6 separate regions of the Homo sapiens genome follow, and regions 2, 3, 4, 5 and 6 are each linked to region 1. The links are contacts of gene promoters, found by promoter capture Hi-C in human tissues and cell types (Jung and others, 2019). All regions are on one chromosome and are shown on one strand. The core of a region is centred on a gene start or on the middle of the fragment in contact, and the rest is flanking DNA. Distances in the headings are between cores, read along the strand shown. Region 1 holds the start of FOXC1 (forkhead box C1). Region 2 overlaps GMDS-DT (GMDS divergent transcript). Region 3 has its middle 180 kb from the start of GMDS-DT. Region 4 overlaps GMDS-DT (GMDS divergent transcript). Region 5 overlaps GMDS-DT (GMDS divergent transcript). Region 6 overlaps GMDS (GDP-mannose 4,6-dehydratase).

What was found. The method cuts DNA at HindIII sites, captures the fragments that hold promoters and counts their contacts. A contact is called where the count stands out against the background at its distance.
Region 2: a contact is called between a fragment that was not itself captured here and the fragment with the promoter of FOXC1 in region 1, in 2 of the 25 tissues and cell types used here (lymphoblastoid cells and mesendoderm cells).
Region 3: a fragment that was not itself captured here is called in contact with the fragment with the promoter of FOXC1 in region 1 in 1 of the 25 tissues and cell types used here (IMR-90 fibroblasts).
Region 4: a contact is called between a fragment that was not itself captured here and the fragment with the promoter of FOXC1 in region 1, in 2 of the 25 tissues and cell types used here (dorsolateral prefrontal cortex and lymphoblastoid cells).
Region 5: a fragment that was not itself captured here is called in contact with the fragment with the promoter of FOXC1 in region 1 in 1 of the 25 tissues and cell types used here (spleen).
Region 6: a contact is called between a fragment that was not itself captured here and the fragment with the promoter of FOXC1 in region 1, in 2 of the 25 tissues and cell types used here (dorsolateral prefrontal cortex and lymphoblastoid cells).

What each region holds. Positions count from the first base shown.
Region 1 is chr6:1,608,664-1,611,363 of GRCh38, reverse strand. It overlaps FOXC1 (forkhead box C1), which reads right to left and starts at 1,449. Exons shown (of 1, transcript NM_001453.3): 1 at 1-1,449. The coding sequence starts at 918. RefSeq lists an enhancer at 592-691 and a silencer at 1,022-1,641. The HindIII fragment of the contact is 11,200 bases long and covers 1-2,700 here.
Region 2 is chr6:2,407,811-2,410,510 of GRCh38, reverse strand. The region is part of intron 6 of GMDS-DT (GMDS divergent transcript); the gene reads right to left. Among named protein-coding and RNA genes, the nearest start is that of GMDS-DT, 160 kb to the right of the region's middle. The HindIII fragment of the contact is 3,666 bases long and covers 1-2,700 here.
Region 3 is chr6:2,427,371-2,430,070 of GRCh38, reverse strand. No RefSeq gene overlaps it. Among named protein-coding and RNA genes, the nearest start is that of GMDS-DT, 180 kb to the right of the region's middle. The HindIII fragment of the contact is 5,871 bases long and covers 1-2,700 here.
Region 4 is chr6:2,374,983-2,377,682 of GRCh38, reverse strand. The region is part of intron 4 of GMDS-DT (GMDS divergent transcript); the gene reads right to left. Among named protein-coding and RNA genes, the nearest start is that of GMDS-DT, 130 kb to the right of the region's middle. The HindIII fragment of the contact is 6,747 bases long and covers 1-2,700 here.
Region 5 is chr6:2,263,494-2,266,193 of GRCh38, reverse strand. GMDS-DT (GMDS divergent transcript) reads right to left here. Exons shown (of 7, transcript NR_046229.1): 3 at 2,510-2,593. Among named protein-coding and RNA genes, the nearest start is that of GMDS-DT, 19 kb to the right of the region's middle. The HindIII fragment of the contact is 4,554 bases long and covers 1-2,700 here.
Region 6 is chr6:2,148,281-2,150,980 of GRCh38, reverse strand. The region is part of intron 1 of GMDS (GDP-mannose 4,6-dehydratase); the gene reads left to right. Among named protein-coding and RNA genes, the nearest start is that of GMDS, 96 kb to the left of the region's middle. The HindIII fragment of the contact is 7,569 bases long and covers 1-2,700 here.

The DNA of each region.
Region 1 (2,700 bases), core at 200-2,699:
CTGGCTATGGTGCGGCGGCGGGGCGGAGGGCGCGGGCGGCGGCGGCGCGGAATCCGCACCGTCCAGGCTGAGCGGCCGCGCCGACGGCAGGCTGCCCGGGGGGCTGCTCCCGCTGGACAGGCTGCTGCTGCTGCTGTCGGGGCTCTCGATCTTGGGCACCGCGGCGGCGCTGCCGCTGCCCAGGGCGGCGGCCGGGGACAGGGGCTGGGGCGGCGAGGGGCACGTACCGTTCTCGGTCTTGATGTCCTGGATGCGCACGGGCGGCGGCTGCGGACCGGGCGCGTTGCCGTCGGCCTGCTCCGGCGGCGCGGGCGGGGGCTGGCGGCCGGGCGGGGGCGGCTCCTTGAGGTGCAGCCTGTCCTTCTCCTCCTTGTCCTTCACCGCGTCCTTCTTCTTGAAGCGCCGCCGCCGCCGCAGGAAGCTGCCGTTCTCGAACATGTTGTAGGAGTCCGGGTCCAGCGTCCAGTAGCTGCCCTTGCCCGGCTTCTTGTCGTCGCGCGGCACCTTGACGAAGCACTCGTTGAGCGAGAGGTTGTGGCGGATGCTGTTCTGCCAGCCCTGCTTGTTGTCCCGGTAGAAGGGGAAGCGGTCCATGATGAACTGGTAGATGCCGTTCAGGGTGATCTTCTTGTCCGGGGCGTTCTGGATGGCCATGGTGATGAGCGCGATGTAGCTATAGGGCGGCTTCACCATGTCCTTGGGCTGCGGCTGCGGCGTGTAGGGCCCGTAGGCGCGGGCCATGCCGCCCGGGTACTGCTCGGCGTGCGCAGGGTGCGAGTACACGCTCATGGGGGCCGGCATGGCGGTGTAGCCGCCCCCGGCCGCCGCGGCCGCCGCGCGGTAGTAGCTCTGCTCGCCGCCGAGGTAGGGCACCACTCCCAGGGAGTTGGGGCTGGACACGGAGTAGCGCGCCTGCATGGCCCCCGCTCGCCGCCGCCCCGCGCCGCCCGCCGCCCCCCACCCTCGCTCGGGCCGGGCCGCGCCGCGCCGGCCGCCGAGTCCGAGTCCGGGCCCGGCCGAGCTGGTGCCGGCCCGCTGCGCTGTGCGTCCGGCTGCGCTGCCGCCTCTCCCGGCGCTCGCTGGGGCTGGCTCCTCCGGCGCCTCGGGCTACCTCGGGGCCCGCGCGGCCGCGAGGCGGGGTCGCTGCGAGGGGAGAAGGCCGGGCCCGGCCGCGGCAGACCGCCTTGCAGGAACTCGCGGCGCAGCTTCCAGGCGCAAACGGGGGAAAGCAGACAAAAAGAAAGAACAAGCAGGCGCCCTTCTCGCCACACTGCCTGCGCCTTCCAGGAGACTCTGCCCTGAGCTGCCGGCGAAGGCGGCCAAATAACCAGGGCGGGGGGGGGGGGGGCCGCGCGCCGGCCGCCTGCCCGGGCCCCGCGTCACCTTTTCTCGGTCTCTCGCGCGCCAGCCGCTTAAGGAAGCATTGGGAAAACTTCTGAACTTTTGAGCATCCGTCACCCAGGCGAGGACTTTTTTACGCAGTTACACTTTTTTCCGGGCAGCGGAGCCCCGCCCCGCCAGCGGCGGCAGCCAATGGGAGGTGAGAACCGCCTCCGAATGAGCCGGAGGCCGAGCCCTGCCGGCCCGCTCCCGGAGGCCGGAGGACCGCGGGGCTGACCACACGCGCGCCGGCCGCCCTGGCCCGGGCCCCGGCCCTGCGCCCGCGCCGGCGCCCGGCCCGCCGTCGGTTCGCCCCCCGCAGTCCACCTGCCTGCCGCCGGCGCCCGGCAGACCTCCCACCCCGGGCCCTCCGGACCCACGCCCGCCGTTCGCGCAGACTTCCTGGGTCCTCCCGGGACCCCGTGCAGACCCTTCCTTCGCCCACGGCTCCCGAGTGGCCCTGGCGTCTCCGCCCCGCCTCGTGCTGGCTCGCTCTCATTCCTTCGCCAGCCCCGCCGACGCCAGCGCTGGGGTTGCCCCAGCCTCTCCTCCCCGCCGCCTCTCCCCTCCCGCAGCCCCTTCCCTCCCTTCTCCAACGCCAGTCTCACTCGGGTCACTGACGTCTCCGGCTTTTCTCCACTTGGAGGTTCTCCTGTCCTGAACTCGGCTACAAAGGACATGATTTTGAGGGCTCGGTCACAGCCAGGCCCTGCTCGCGGTGGGGAAGAAGGTTCGTCGCCCATCTGGCCCCCCTCCATGACCCCTCCCCAGCCGAAATGAAGGCAAGGGGTGCGGGGCCCTGCTGGGAGTTTCCGACGGCCGTTCACCCGCGAAGGATGAGCCCGCCCCGCTGCGGGCCGCCCTGCTTCTCGCCCCCCTCCCCGGGGGGCCGGCCCTTGGCGGCCTGAGGGTGCGGGCGGCGAGGGCTGCCGGAGCCCGGCTGCTGCCCCGCGCTCCCCTGCCCGCCCGCGAGGGTCCCACCGGCTCGCCGCGCCGCCGCCCCCTCTGATCCCGTCAGGCCCGTTTCGGCTCAGATGAGGGGTCAGGCTGCGGGCTCGGTGACATTAGCAGGTGTGATGACAAGAAGCAAATAAATATGTCTAAGAGCTTAACGCTTCCCCAGGCCAGTCTCCATCTCCACATGCGCGGGGCTGCCGGCTCGCAGAGACAACGGGTGTGTCTGGGGGAACGTCCAGGGTCGCACCTAGAGGGCGGTTCAAGGATTCTGGGGGGACACGCACGGAAGGGCCCCCGCTCGTTGTGCACACGCCTGAGATTCGCCGTCGCTGGGTGGTTGGAATGGGACAGGAAGAAGAGAAA
Region 2 (2,700 bases), core at 194-2,693, 800 kb before region 1:
TGGAGGAAGAGAGGGAAGGGGGAGAAAGAAATTCTATGTTAAAGACTAAAAACTCTGGACACCAGAAAGGTTGAGTTTGTTCTGCACAGGGACCCTCAGCTGTCCCCATCTGCTTTGTATCCAACGAGTTCCACTATGAATTCTTGATTTTCAGCCTTGGTTGGGCGACAAGGCCCCCCATCCTCCAGAGAAGCTCTTTCAAGTGGCCTTGATTTGCCTAAAACTCATCACCCCATCACCTGGTCCTTTACCCTAAGAAAATAACCCTGCCCCAATTCAAAGAGAAAAGAAGTCATCAGATCAGTAATCCCTCAGATTTCTCCCACAAAATATACAGATTTAACCTGTAAGTACATTCACCTTTTCTTCTCCCTCCCTATTAAAATGAAACAGGTGCCCTCCCCCCTCATCTATGGTTACTTCACCTCCACTCTGGAGCCCACCCTTCTGCATCCAAGGGACTTTCCCTCTCATGACTATCTCCCTCTCCTTTTCCTTCACCGTCTCCTTCTATACAGGCTCATTCTCAACCACAGAGAAATGTACTCAAATCCCCCTTACTTTAAATAAAGAGCAGCCGGGCACAGTAGCTCACGCCTGTAATCCCAACACTTTGGAAGGCCCAGATGGGCAGATTGCTTGAGCCCAGGAGTTCAAGACCAGCCTGGGTAACACCGTGAAACTCCATCTCTACAAACAAACAAAAAATGGCCAAGTACGGTGGCTCACTCCTGTAATCCCAGCACTTTGGGAGGCCAAAGTGGGTGGAGTTTGAGAACAGCCTGGCCAACATGGTGAAGCCCCATCTCTACTAAAAATACAAAACTAGCCGGGCCTGATGGAGTGTGCCTGTAATCCCAGCTACCTGGGAGGCTGAGGTGGGAGGATTGCTTGAGCCCGGGAGGTCAAGGCTGCAGTAAGTTGTGATCGCACCACTGCTCTCCAGCCTGGGTGACAGAGCAAGACCCTGTCTCAAAAACAAACAAACAAAAAAGCATACTGAAACCCCATTTTTCCTTACCTACTCTTATCCCTCCAACTACTTGGTATTCTGGCATGAATCCTAGGCAGTTTCCATGTTAAAAGAGAGGATTCACAAGGTTCTACCAGGAAATGCCTTTATTCTATGCACCCCTCATTTCAACCTGTCCTGTGGAATTTGTTCCTGCCCTCCTCTGGAAGGGAGATTGGGTACAACCATAGTTGTAAGAATATACAAGAGTGGTCTTCTTTTTGCCATTGGTGTACTTGTTCCTCTGTCTTAATCAAAATTCTGAACTTTACTTAAAGCTTCTCCCCACTCTCGGCTTTGCCTTGGAGGCCTTGGAGTGGGCAGGGGTCTCTTGTCTTTCTAAGCTTCATGCTTCTGTACTGTCCCCTCCTCACAAATCCTCCTCTGGCTCCTCCTGGGAGAAAGCCAAGGCCAGGGAAGCTCTGATTTGGCAGACAGTGCCTCCACCTTCTAATAGTGCTCCCTTGTCTTGGGGACCCCCAAAACTGACTATTTTTCCTGGAGTACATTTAAGAGACGTTCTGCATAACTGTGGATCTCTCAAAAAGCTCCCTGCTTCCCATGTTTAGCCACTTACAACTCCCTATTAACTCTGTTTCTGATGGTCCAATCAACACAAACTCTCTCCCCGGTCGGGTCTCTGGCTCTCCAGGTGGCCCTTTTAGGTAAAGTCCACTTAAACGTGACTCCAGACATTTATTTCCAAGTCTGGTGGACTAGAAACCCTAAATGACCCAGCCCCAATTTCAGAAAAGGAAAATAAATGAAACTGGATAAATATGAAACAAAAGAAAATAACATTTTAGTGAATCAACATGCCAGCAATAAAGTGAGGCATCTATCTTACTCTGAAACTTGGAAGCAGGAGTTTCCAGTTTCAAAGTAAGATACTGAGCCTGGGAACTACGGAAAGTAAGGAAGATCCAAAGCAGCCTCCACCCAAAACTAAGTACTGAACTCTGATGACCTTTCGTTTCCATTTGAGAGCTACAGGGGCATGAGAAACAGAAAATTAAGCCCACCCAAGGTGGAGAGACTGCCCCACCAAGTGAAGCCTAGAACATCTATAGCCTTAGTATAAGGGTAAGTAGGAAACAGACTAGCAAAGAAGGGGAAAGAAAGAACATGCCTATCTTGAGAAGTCTTAACTACAATCCCCACTCATATGGGTTTTCAGCCAATACACACTATGTCTGTGTTTTGAAAAAACAGACAAATTGGTCTCAAGCTGGTCATGCCCCAGGTGACTTCTAGAAGAAATGTCATATACAGGTGCTCCTCGACTTACCATGAGGTTACCTCCTGATAAACTCATTGTAAGTTGAAAATATCATAGGTCTAAAATGCATTTAATATGACTAGCCTACCAAACATCAGAGCTTGGCCTAGTCACCTTCGTTGTGCTCAGAATTTACATTAGCCTGCAGCTGGGCAACAGACAACACAGCTCACTGTCACTTATCAGTTGTTTGCCCTTACGATCATGATCCCCTGGCTGACTGCCTAGCATCTCAAAAGAGGATCATGCAGTTTTCCGTGAATGCATATCACTTTTGCACCATAGTAAAGTCAAAAAATTGTGAAGTCAAACCATCATAAGTCAGGGACCATCTGTACTCTCAAAAGGAACCCAACCTCAACTCAATCTCAAAGAATTTCAACAGATAAAGTCTCAAGAAACAGAAATA
Region 3 (2,700 bases), core at 34-2,533, 820 kb before region 1:
CACTGGGAGTTCTAATGGTCAATACACTCTGGTTTAGCACTTCACTAGAAATTCTTAGAAAATGTAGATTTAACTAAATTAAAAGTTTCCCCAAAGGCAAGCACACAACAGGGCATAAAGTAAATGATGAATAAATAATTTTTTATTTGATCCAACAGTCCCTTCCTTTCCTTTTATCATCTTAATTCACATACACTGAAGGTCTGATTCCTGAAGAATTAATCTTCTATTAAGGAAAATACAGTTTCGAATAGCACCAAAAACATTTATTTCTGGTCCCCACTTTCTCTTCCTTGTTCAGCCTGTCTGATCTCCCAGAGCAATAATACTGCTGACTCATTGGTACCTCCAACCCAGCGATCCAGGCCGTCTGTGGCCCACACCCATGTGATGCCCTTGAAGCTTAGTTTACATTCCATGGTAAATCGGTATAATCACTTCTTTGCACATATCCTCAGCTTCCTTGCTTCTTCTGGCTTGGTCACGCTTCCTTAACAAAAATACAATCTCAATCATGTCTTAACTCTCAAGAAACTCGACTCTACTTCCCTGAGAACATCACAGCACCCAGAAGAGAATGCTTACACTCCCACACCTCACCCACCCATTTCCCAGCATCTGTACCCATGCATTCTGCCTTCCTTCCTTTATTGCAGATAAATTGTACAATCTCCTGCTAAAGCAAAGCTCTCTATTTGCACTGTCCAGCCCATATCCTCAGGTCTACTCAAAGGCATTGCTCCCTGTCTCCTACATCACTATGTTTTCCCATTCAACCAGATTATCAGCATACAATCATACTACGCTTTCTCTCACTATAAAGTTTCACAGCCAGTTCTCAGTCCTCATCTTACTTGACTCATCAGTAGCTCCAGACATGGCCAATCACTCCTTTCTCCTTGATTCTCTTTCTTCATTTGACTTTCAGGACACCTCACTCCACTTTCCCCCCCACTTCACTGGTCTTTTCCTTCCCATCTTCACTGCTGGCTCCCCTCTACTCCCTGACCTCAGGTGTTGGAGTTTCCCAGAGCCATGTCTTGGCCTCCACCCTCTCTCTATAGACACTCCTTCCCCTTGGGATCTCATCCAGTCTCACAGCTGTAAACAGTATCTATATGCCAATGACCCTCCCTAGTCCACACCTCTCTCCCAAACTTCAGCGATCCACTCCACAGACCCCACAGATGTCTGATAAGCATGTCAACTTCAATGTGTCCAAAATCAAACTCTCAATCTTCCCTCCCCAACCAGCAGCCTTTCCCGTTTCAGTTGATGCTGACCCATCTCTAGAGTTGTTTATACCTCTTTCTTTCTCTTCTATGCCTCATCCTAACCTATGGGGAATTCTGACTCTACCTTCAAGATATCCCCAGGACCAAACTCTTCTCACCACCTGCCCTGCTGCTACCAGGTCCAACCCACTGTCATCTCTTGCCTAGATTCCTGCAATTACCTTCTAATAGATTCCCCCACTCCTACCCCACCTCCAGATCTACTCTCAAGGCAAGAGCCAACATTATCCTCAGAAAATGTTCTGCAGGTTATTCAGTCTTCTGCTGAGCACTCTCAGATGGCTTTCTGTGGCCCTCTGAGCAAAAGCAGAAGTCACCCATCCCAACCTACTCAGCTCCCATCATTCCCTCTTTGACCTCACCTGACCTTTCTCCTTAGTATTGCAGCCTGTCCCTACTATGACCCTCCATTGCCTGCCCTCTGGTCTATTTTTCTCCCGTCACTGCCCTCACCACCTTCTCATTGATCGTATAATCAATGTATTATCTGCCTTCCTTCACTGGAATATGAACTCCGTGGGGCAGGGTCTTTATTTTGTTCCCTGTTTTCTCCAAACATCTAGAACAATTTCTGCATGCCATAGGTGTCAACTTTCTTGGACCCACTAAACCAACTTTTTCTGAAGTCGTGTTTGTGCTTGTGGAAATGCAGATCAGGTCTCCCAGAATCCAGGAAGCAGATGGCCTGGGAGTGAGGGTGGGGCATCTGCACATTTAACAAGCTCTCAGGTCGTGCATATCCATGTGGAGTATCCCTGAGAATCACATGCGAAGTCTCTTAATGTCTTTTTAGATTCTGTACCCTTTCTTTAAATGTCAGTCTACAGGTTCCTAATCGATCAGACAGATAAATCCATGTGTAAGCAGACAGAGGTGGAAGGAGGGTCCTTGGAAACCCCGTCTCCTTGTAGTGGCCTCTGAGGGGAAAGGGCCATTCCCCAAGGCTTCATAGAATGAAGACATCTGGTGTAATGTGTAGCGCAAGCCTATTGCTTTTAGGAAATTTTTATTAACGTTAACTTTTTACTGACTCAATTCTCCTGATTGAATTAGACTGCACTAAAATTTAGAATGAGCCTAAAGATGCTAAAATATAAAACTCCCCTCTGGAAATGCAACTTTTCTCTCTCTGCTGCCCCCACTGTCACCCCCACCCAACCTGAGCACAGCTCCTGTCCCTCCCCACTCTGTGGAGGCTGCTGCATTCTGACAGTCTCAGTAGCTTTCTTTACCTCTTGCCACAGGAATCTTCTGCTGCCCTGGCCCATGCTGACTTCAGCCCCAGATCACCCTGATTCTCTCTTTTCTCCATTCCTCTTCCTCGATTTCCCAAATACTACCAAAGTAAATGATGCACCCATGTGGATTGGCTCCATTGCAAATTAATGTTTTTGAGTCTGGACTG
Region 4 (2,700 bases), core at 45-2,544, 770 kb before region 1:
TAATGTAAATGCTATATGAGTGGTTTTATAGTGCATTCTTTTAATTTGTGTTGTTTTTATTGTTGTGTTGTTATTTTTTATTGTTTTTTTTTCTGAATATTTGTCATCCATGGTTAGTTGAATTCATGGATACACAGAGCAACTGGACTAAAGTTAACCTTGGACTAGTCCTGAGTGAACCTCTGAAATGTTAACTGGAGTATATGTTCAGAACACGCTTCTTGGTGGCAAATATTTTTGAATCAACAAATGAACCAGCTTCTCCTGGGGCAGGCTATTTTTAACATGTTTTAAAATGACCTCTCACTGTTCCGTGGGTGGGTGGGCAGCTGTTTGCAATTACAGCCATCTATGTGGTCCACAGGTATGCCAGCGCTGGGGAATCTGGCTTTTTGTGAAATGTTTTTAAGTAACTTGCTGCCACACTGCACTCAGCAGCCAAACCACACCAAATGGAAATGTACTAAAAGAGATGGGCCGAGCAAAGCGCTCCCTGAAAAACAGACAAGTGACTCATGCTCATAAAATATCACTACCATGGTGACTCTTCAAACACGCTGCCCCGTCCTCGGAGGGGCGCGCATGGCATTTCTGCCAACCGTTTATTGGCCTATTGTTGAGAATGATGGTTTTTTCACAGTGGCTTCTTACTTCTTTATTGGCAAGGCCAGAAGACACGTTGGTGCTGAAGACAGGCCTTCTCAGCTCCGGGAGGAAGAAAACCTCCTTCCCGGACTGCTGCAAACTTCTAAACAAAAGCCTGCAGCCAATTGCACTGTAGCAACCACCAGCAAGGGTGTGAGTGGGTTTTTTGTTGGTGGTGTTCTGAGGCATTGAAATGAAGCAAATAGTCACATGAAGGATTTCTGGAAAATACACGCTCTTTTCATCCTTTCAAAAGCTGTCAAGCCTTAGAATACGGAAATGGCAGTTTGGAAAGCTCCTTATTTGGAAAGAGTTAACCCCACGTCCCTCCAGGCTACCTGCTCCCATCAGGGTTCTTCAGCTGCTCACCCCTGACTGGCTGTGCCTGCTTTTCCCCATCCGGCTGTGAGTGGGCACACACGTGTGGTGTGTGTGTGCACATGTGTACATGTGTGGTGGATACATGTGGTATGGTGTGTGTGTACGTGTTAGTTGTGTATATGGGGGGGTTGTGTGTGCAGTCTGTTGTGGAGTGTGTGGGATGTCAGCGTGTGTTGGGTGTGTGTGCTGAGTGTGTGTATATTTGTATATGTGTGTGTAATGCATTGGGTTGGTGTGTGTGTTGGGTATATTTGGAGGTTTGTGTGTGGTGTGTAGAGGGTGTGTGGTGTGTATATGTGCTGGGTGTGTGTGTGTTGGGTGTGGGTATGTGTGTTTATATGTGTATGTGTGTTTGGTGTGTTGAGTTTGTGTGTGGTGTGGTGCATGTGTTGGGGATATAGTGGAGGTTTAGAGTTTGTGGGGAGGGGTTGAGTGTGTGTGGTGTGTGGAGTCTGTGTGGTGTCAATGTGTTTTGGATGTGTACATATGTGTATGTGTGTGTGGTGTGTTGGATTTGGATGTGCTGTGTGTGTGTTGGGTGTAGGGGAGGTTGTATATGTGTTATGTGTATAACAAGGGACAAATGCTCTTAGCACAAACAGGAAAGATTTCTACCCCACAAAAAAATTCATTTTTATGCCACGTCCTGTGGTCATTGCCAGAGCCAAAGCTTCATACTTATTCCACGATGCAGGAGACACTCTCCACCTGCCCTGATGACACCTGGGGCGTCATACGGCCTACAAATCAACGAGAAGTTGCCAACTGGTTTTTCTGCATTTTATATTATGCTATAGTGGTGGCGGCCAAATATTCGAATAGACTATCTTCATTTTGTTTTACTACCTCTTTCTAACTCGTCCATAATCATCACATTGGAACAAAGGAGGAAGTCAAGAAGAAAGGACAAGTAGGAACATAAGAGAGAAGACGGAAAGGGGAACAGAGAAACAGAGAGACGGCACACCGGGAGACGTTCAGCAGGGCTGCTCAGCGTGGCCTGCACGCGCCCTGGAGGAGGAACGCCCTCGCACCTCCCGGAAACCCAGAACAATTGCCCGAGTGTATCTGAGGATCCATGAATTAACGGTCCCAGAACTGTCATCACCCTCTCACTAACACGCTCTCACCTGTGACATGTTGGCTGGCCCGGGTTTGCAGGTTCAAAGCCGGCTTTGTATACCCACTCCCTCACCATTCCCTTGTGAAATGTGTTCAATTTTCCCCACACGCACACTTCTACGTAATTGTTGCATGTTCTTGTGCTTAATGAGAATAGCATAATACTCAGGTAAAGAAGCCCCAGGTGTTCTGGAACAGTGGTGTTTCAGACAAGAGCTTTGAGGGGGGAGGAGGCACAAACATGGATGTCATCCTTTAGACACTGCACTCAAATTCACAACCTTCCTTCAATCTCAATTGTCCTTGAGATCAAATCAAATTATTACTATTGTTAAACAGGTGACTAGCTTAAATGGCAGCAGCAAGCAGTGCGAGGAGGGCTTGCAGTTGTGCTGATTTCCCCCATAAAATGCTGTACTAAATAAACTTTCAACCTCCATTTCCATCTGTCTAGGGATTTTCAACAAATTCAATAGATTCATTCACAGAATGCTACAGCCAGAAGGGACTTTAGTGATCATCTGGTGCAAATACCTCAGGCCCAAATGTATA
Region 5 (2,700 bases), core at 175-2,674, 650 kb before region 1:
GCCCTGAGATGAGCTTTATGGATTTTCTCAGGATTGACTTGGAAGATATATAATAAGTATTAAGGGAAAGTTTCAGTAACGTTCTTAGTTAAGGATATCAATGAACAGTGGTAATAATGTTTGGTCCAATTTATGCCTTGATTGATTTAAATTCCTGATAACTAAAATGAGAAGGGAAACTTGGCTTAATTAGGAGGTATACTGTATTTTTTTAATGATCATAGATTTCACTATTGGAAGGGAACAAAAACGATAATTTTCTCCAGCACCCTAAGACCTTGCTCCCTGGGGGCCAGGGCTGTGTCTTTGTCTCTAGAGTTTGCTGAGATTCTGGAATGTGTGCTCAGGAAATAGAGTGAGAGAGGGGAGGCATATCTGCCCCATTTAATTGTGAAGCAATGGAGGACAAAGAAGTTTCCTGAGATTACATAACCATCAACAGTTACAATCCCAGATTTTCTGCATCCTCTTGTGGGACATGACAAGAAATAGATACCTGGTCTCTGCTCCTGATTCCTGACACAGAGTTCCAAAAACCTTTGTAACTGCCTGGATGATAGGAATGCTGGGAACATCTTTTTGTTATAATATTTGGTCTTAGTCCCCAGTTTCTAACACAAGAGCTTCTAAGACCCTTGGAATTTCTGGAGTGATGAATGTCCTTCTCTAATGAAATGACTCGGTATTGGGGGCCCTAGATAGCTTCAGGATGGGGTTTGGGGAATGGAGACCAAGGCATGATCAGAGGGATGGACTTCCTGCCTCCCCAACCTTCAGGGAGGGCAAAGGGGCTGGAGATTGAGTTAATCACCAATGGCTCATGCCCAAATAATAAAGTCTGAATAAAAACCATTAAATTTCTTATTCCTCTGCCCCTCACACCTCATCGTCTTACCACTACCATGCCCATCCCTTTGCCATCCTGAAATTCTTTTCCTTCTGGTTTTTAAGCCTAGCTAAAGTGACCTCTGACAGCACAGGATACTGAAAGAGAAAGATCAGGACTTCTATTTCCTCCTGTAGGCTGTGTCCTGTACTGTCTTGTGGGAAAGAAGTTGGCTTATAGCAGGATGAGTCAGAAATCGGGGACTGTTTCCTAACACTAGGTAGTCCCTATGCCTTCTCCTTGTCAGATGTGGTTTTGTTCACTATTAGGTTGATCCACTTTGAGTGTTCAGGAAATACCTAGTTCCATCAGTCCTAGTTTCCATTCATGGGGATGGGTGACTCCTGAACATTCATTCATAGGATGGTCCTACCTAGGCTCTACACATGTTCATACAGGTGTAAGAGCCAGACCCCAGTAGCAGATGAAAACTCTATGATGTGTATCTCTTATGCACTGGTCTCATGCATGAGTGGAGGTGCTGGCCATTTGGGCTCTACCCATCCACATAAGGATTTCTAGAATCCAAGCCTATCCATCTGAAGGTGCTCATACCATTCTAGAGCCTTCCCGTCTCCCCAAGGCACATTGTTTCCTTAATCACTAGTGGGGCATCTGTCCCTTTGTTCTGCCTGCATATAGTCAGCTTGTCGTAAGAATACTAGAATGGCAGGGATTTCTACCCTATGGGCCTCTTTACATGACTGGCATGCTCCATTTACCACTGTGGTAGTCAAAAAAGCTCTCTGTCTAAAAACGGCCTTAATATGCTAGGTCTTTGCCTGACATTAGCATTCAAGGCCTAACGGGGTTTGTCTTAATGTGTTCTGGCTGCTATGACTATGTACCACAGGCTGCATGGCTTGAACAACAGGATTTATTTTCTCACAGTTCTGAAGGCAAGAGGTCCAAGATTAAGGTGTTGGAAAATTTGGTTTCTGGTGAGGCCTTACTTTCTGGCTTGCAGATGGCTGCCTTCTTCTTGTGTCCTCACATGGAGTCTCTGTTCCCTCCCCTTCAGCCTGCACATGACTTTGCAACTGCCTTGACTAACAAAGTACAGCTGAAGGCAATACAACATCTACCTAGCTCTCTCTCAGGATACTTGGCCTTGGGAACCAGCCATTGTGCTGTGAGAATGCCTAGCTCTGAGCTGTGGCTGAGCTCCCACACAGAGGCAGTGAGTACCGACTTGCCAACTGTGTGTTAGCTAGCCTGGAGGTGGACCTTCCAGCCACTGAATGTCCCTGTGAGGCAGAGATGAGCCTTCCCTGCAGAGCCCTGCCCAGATTGCAATTAACAGGCAACATAAATGACCATTGTTGTTTAAATCACCAAGTTTTGGGGTGGTTTACTAAGCAATAATAGGCACCAGGAACAATTGGGGATAAGTCTTTTCTCTTGTTGCTTCCTTGTAATATAATTTTTAACTCCTCAGAACATAAAAGAGATTTCTCCAGACTTTTGTTAAGCTTTTAGAAATATAACTGGTTCAAAAGGAATGACTGAATATATGCATCTACATCTTTTTTATTCCAATATCCTGATGAAATTATAAAAGAGATTTCATATTTTAAAAATCCAGCAAACTAAAGCTGACACTGTATAAAATGAAATACATACCATGATCAACAGGGGTTTATCCCACATGCATAAGGCTGGCTCAACATTCAAAAATCAATTAAGGTAGTCCATCACATCAACTGGCTAAAAAAGAAAATCATATGATCTTATCAATATACACAGAAAAGACATTTGACAAAATCCACTGCCTGTTTATGATAAAAACACTCAGCCTACTAAGAATAGAGGGG
Region 6 (2,700 bases), core at 201-2,700, 540 kb before region 1:
AGTTCAGGCATTTCTAAGGGAAATTTGCCAGTGTAAAAGCAGTCTAATCATATTTCATTCATAATTTCCAAATATTCAAATTAGCTAGAAGCTGTGAACTTTGACTGTGGTCTGTATAAATTTTTGTGGAATAGAGATAGCTTGTATTAGGTATCATATAATTAAAGATAGAAGTGTTGATAACAGAAGTGGTAGTCAGCCTAAGCACTTTTAAATTTACTGAGTAATTAGAACTCAGTTTATGGCCAAAATCTTCAAAGTTTGCAGAAACACCCCATCTTTTAAATATTCTTTAGTTTAAGATTGTTGTGGATTCTTAATCTGAAATAATTGCTTCTTATAGGTGGAAATAATTTTAGAGATTACTTTAGGGTGTGAAGCCCTAATTTTATAGATGAGAAAACTGAAGCCAAAAGAAGTTAGTGGTTTTCCCACAGGACATTGTTATAAATGGTAAAGCTAATCTGATACTGGAATCCACATCCCTAGAATTCCATGGAGATAGTTTCGTGTTAGTGGGAGAGGTAGACTTTATAGCCAGAGGCATTCCACTTAGTGAAATTTTATTTTTATGTTTAAAAATTTTTATTTTTTTAAAATAGAAAGGAGTCTCACTGTGTAGCCCAGGCTTTTCTTGAACTCCTGGGCTCAAATGGTCCCACCTCAGCCTCCCAAAATGCCAGGATTAGAGTCATGAACCACTGCATCTGGCCTTAGTGAAATCATTAATTTATTTCACCTTGATCAGAAGTTGGTGATTTCATTGTCATTCTAGTCAGTTCCAAATACCGTTAATCTGTATATACCTGTTCCTAAATGAAAATTATTTTACAAGTACTTGATCTTCTCTCACAATACGTACTAGATGGAATGAGTGTTTTTTCAAGGAAATAATAAAATACTTACAAACTGTAAGAATACTGGGTCGTGGCAGTGTTTGCCTTGAGCATATTGTTAATATGATTAAAAATATCAGGACTCAACCTATACAGCAAACCAAAATAGAGGGTCTTTTAAAATTTTTCTGTTATTTCCAGGATATAAGGTAATTTTAAGACATGTGAAGAAGATGAAAAAAAGAAAGAGAAAGCTCCCAAGCAAAAAACCTTGGGACTTAGTTAATGCACACAATCCTGGCTGGAATCTGCTGTGTGTACTCAGTCTCCCCACAGCTTGTAAAGTCAGTTAAATATAGTCACCGTTGGGTTCTGGGGACGAGCAAATAGGAAAAGAAGGGAAAGCTGGAGGCGTGTTGTAGAAATACACTTCAAAGTAATTTATTCTAACGCTTTTTAAAGCCCTCTTTGTAAATGCACTTTTAAATAGTAGTTCTGTTTCCTTGAATCCACGCAAGAGCATAAAATAGACTGGATTCAGAACTGGCGTGGGAATATTGTCAGCTCCATTACTGCCTGTGTTGGGACAGCTGCTCTGCTCCACGCTGCCTAGTTTCTTTTAATGGACCTAGGTTCAGGTGGCTGAAAAAGCCATTCTGTGGTAGACGCCTCACATAATCCTTATGTGCGTGTTTATTGTGTGTGCCTGTTCATGGGAGTTCTGTGGCAGTTAAATTGTCCACCCAGGATTTCCAGACAGAAGGAAACACACATGTAAGTGATGCAGTATTTGCTGGTGGTGTGGCTAAAAAAATAAAAAGTCAATACACCTTGTTCTCTTTACATTCATTTTAATGAAATCAACAAAACTGATGCTCTCTTCAAATCAAACCACTGGCTGTTCAATGATTTTTCCAATTAATAAGAATATATAGTTGCCTACCTTTTTTTTCTGTGAGCTAAGCATTCCAAGATAAAGCCCTTAATCATCTTAAATTGTCGGGGATAACTTTGAGCAAGCAGAAGAAATGTTATGTGCGTCTATTTTTATTCTTTTCCGTATTTTATGTCATCAAGGTCTTGCTTTCCTCATTGGTGAAGCAGTTATATTAGGTGATCCCTCAGGTGCTCTCCATGTCTGATGTGATGATTCGTAACCATGCTGTGGAAGCCTGCTGTATCAGCGGTACCTGCATGTTGTACCTCTAGGGTAGGGTGCTTGTGTTACAGTGCAGTCCAGATGAGCAGTTTCTCACGTGTTCTACCGTATTGCTGCATGTCCGTGAATGGTGCTCCCATAGACTTACTCAGATTTGGGGTTTTTATGAAACACAGCTTCCTAAACTTCACCTCTTTGACAAAGCTGATATAATACACAGGATGTAATAATAGGTCTTTGAGAACCTTCCATCAAGACTAACTTCAGGCCGGACGTGGTGGTTCATGCCTGTAATCCCAGCACTTTGGGAGGCCAAGGCGGGCGGATCACCTGAGGTCAGGAGTTGGAGACCAGCCTGGCCAACATGGTGAAACACCTGCTCTACTAATAATACAAAATTAGCCAGGCGTGGTGGTGCATGCCTGTAATCCCAGCTACTTGAGAGGCTGAGGCAGGAGAATAGCTTGAACCCAGGACGTGAAGGTTTCAGTGAGCAGAGATCACACCATTGCACTCCAGCCTGGGCGACAAGAGGTAAACTCCATCTCAAAAAAAACAAAAACAAACAAACAAACAAAAACTTGATAGATGTGAATACAAACTCAGAGATCAGAGAATGCTTGTAAGTCTCATATTTATACTTTGCTGCCCGGCTTACGACTTGGAGGTGCATGTTGAATCACTGAATAGATCTATTAACTGGAG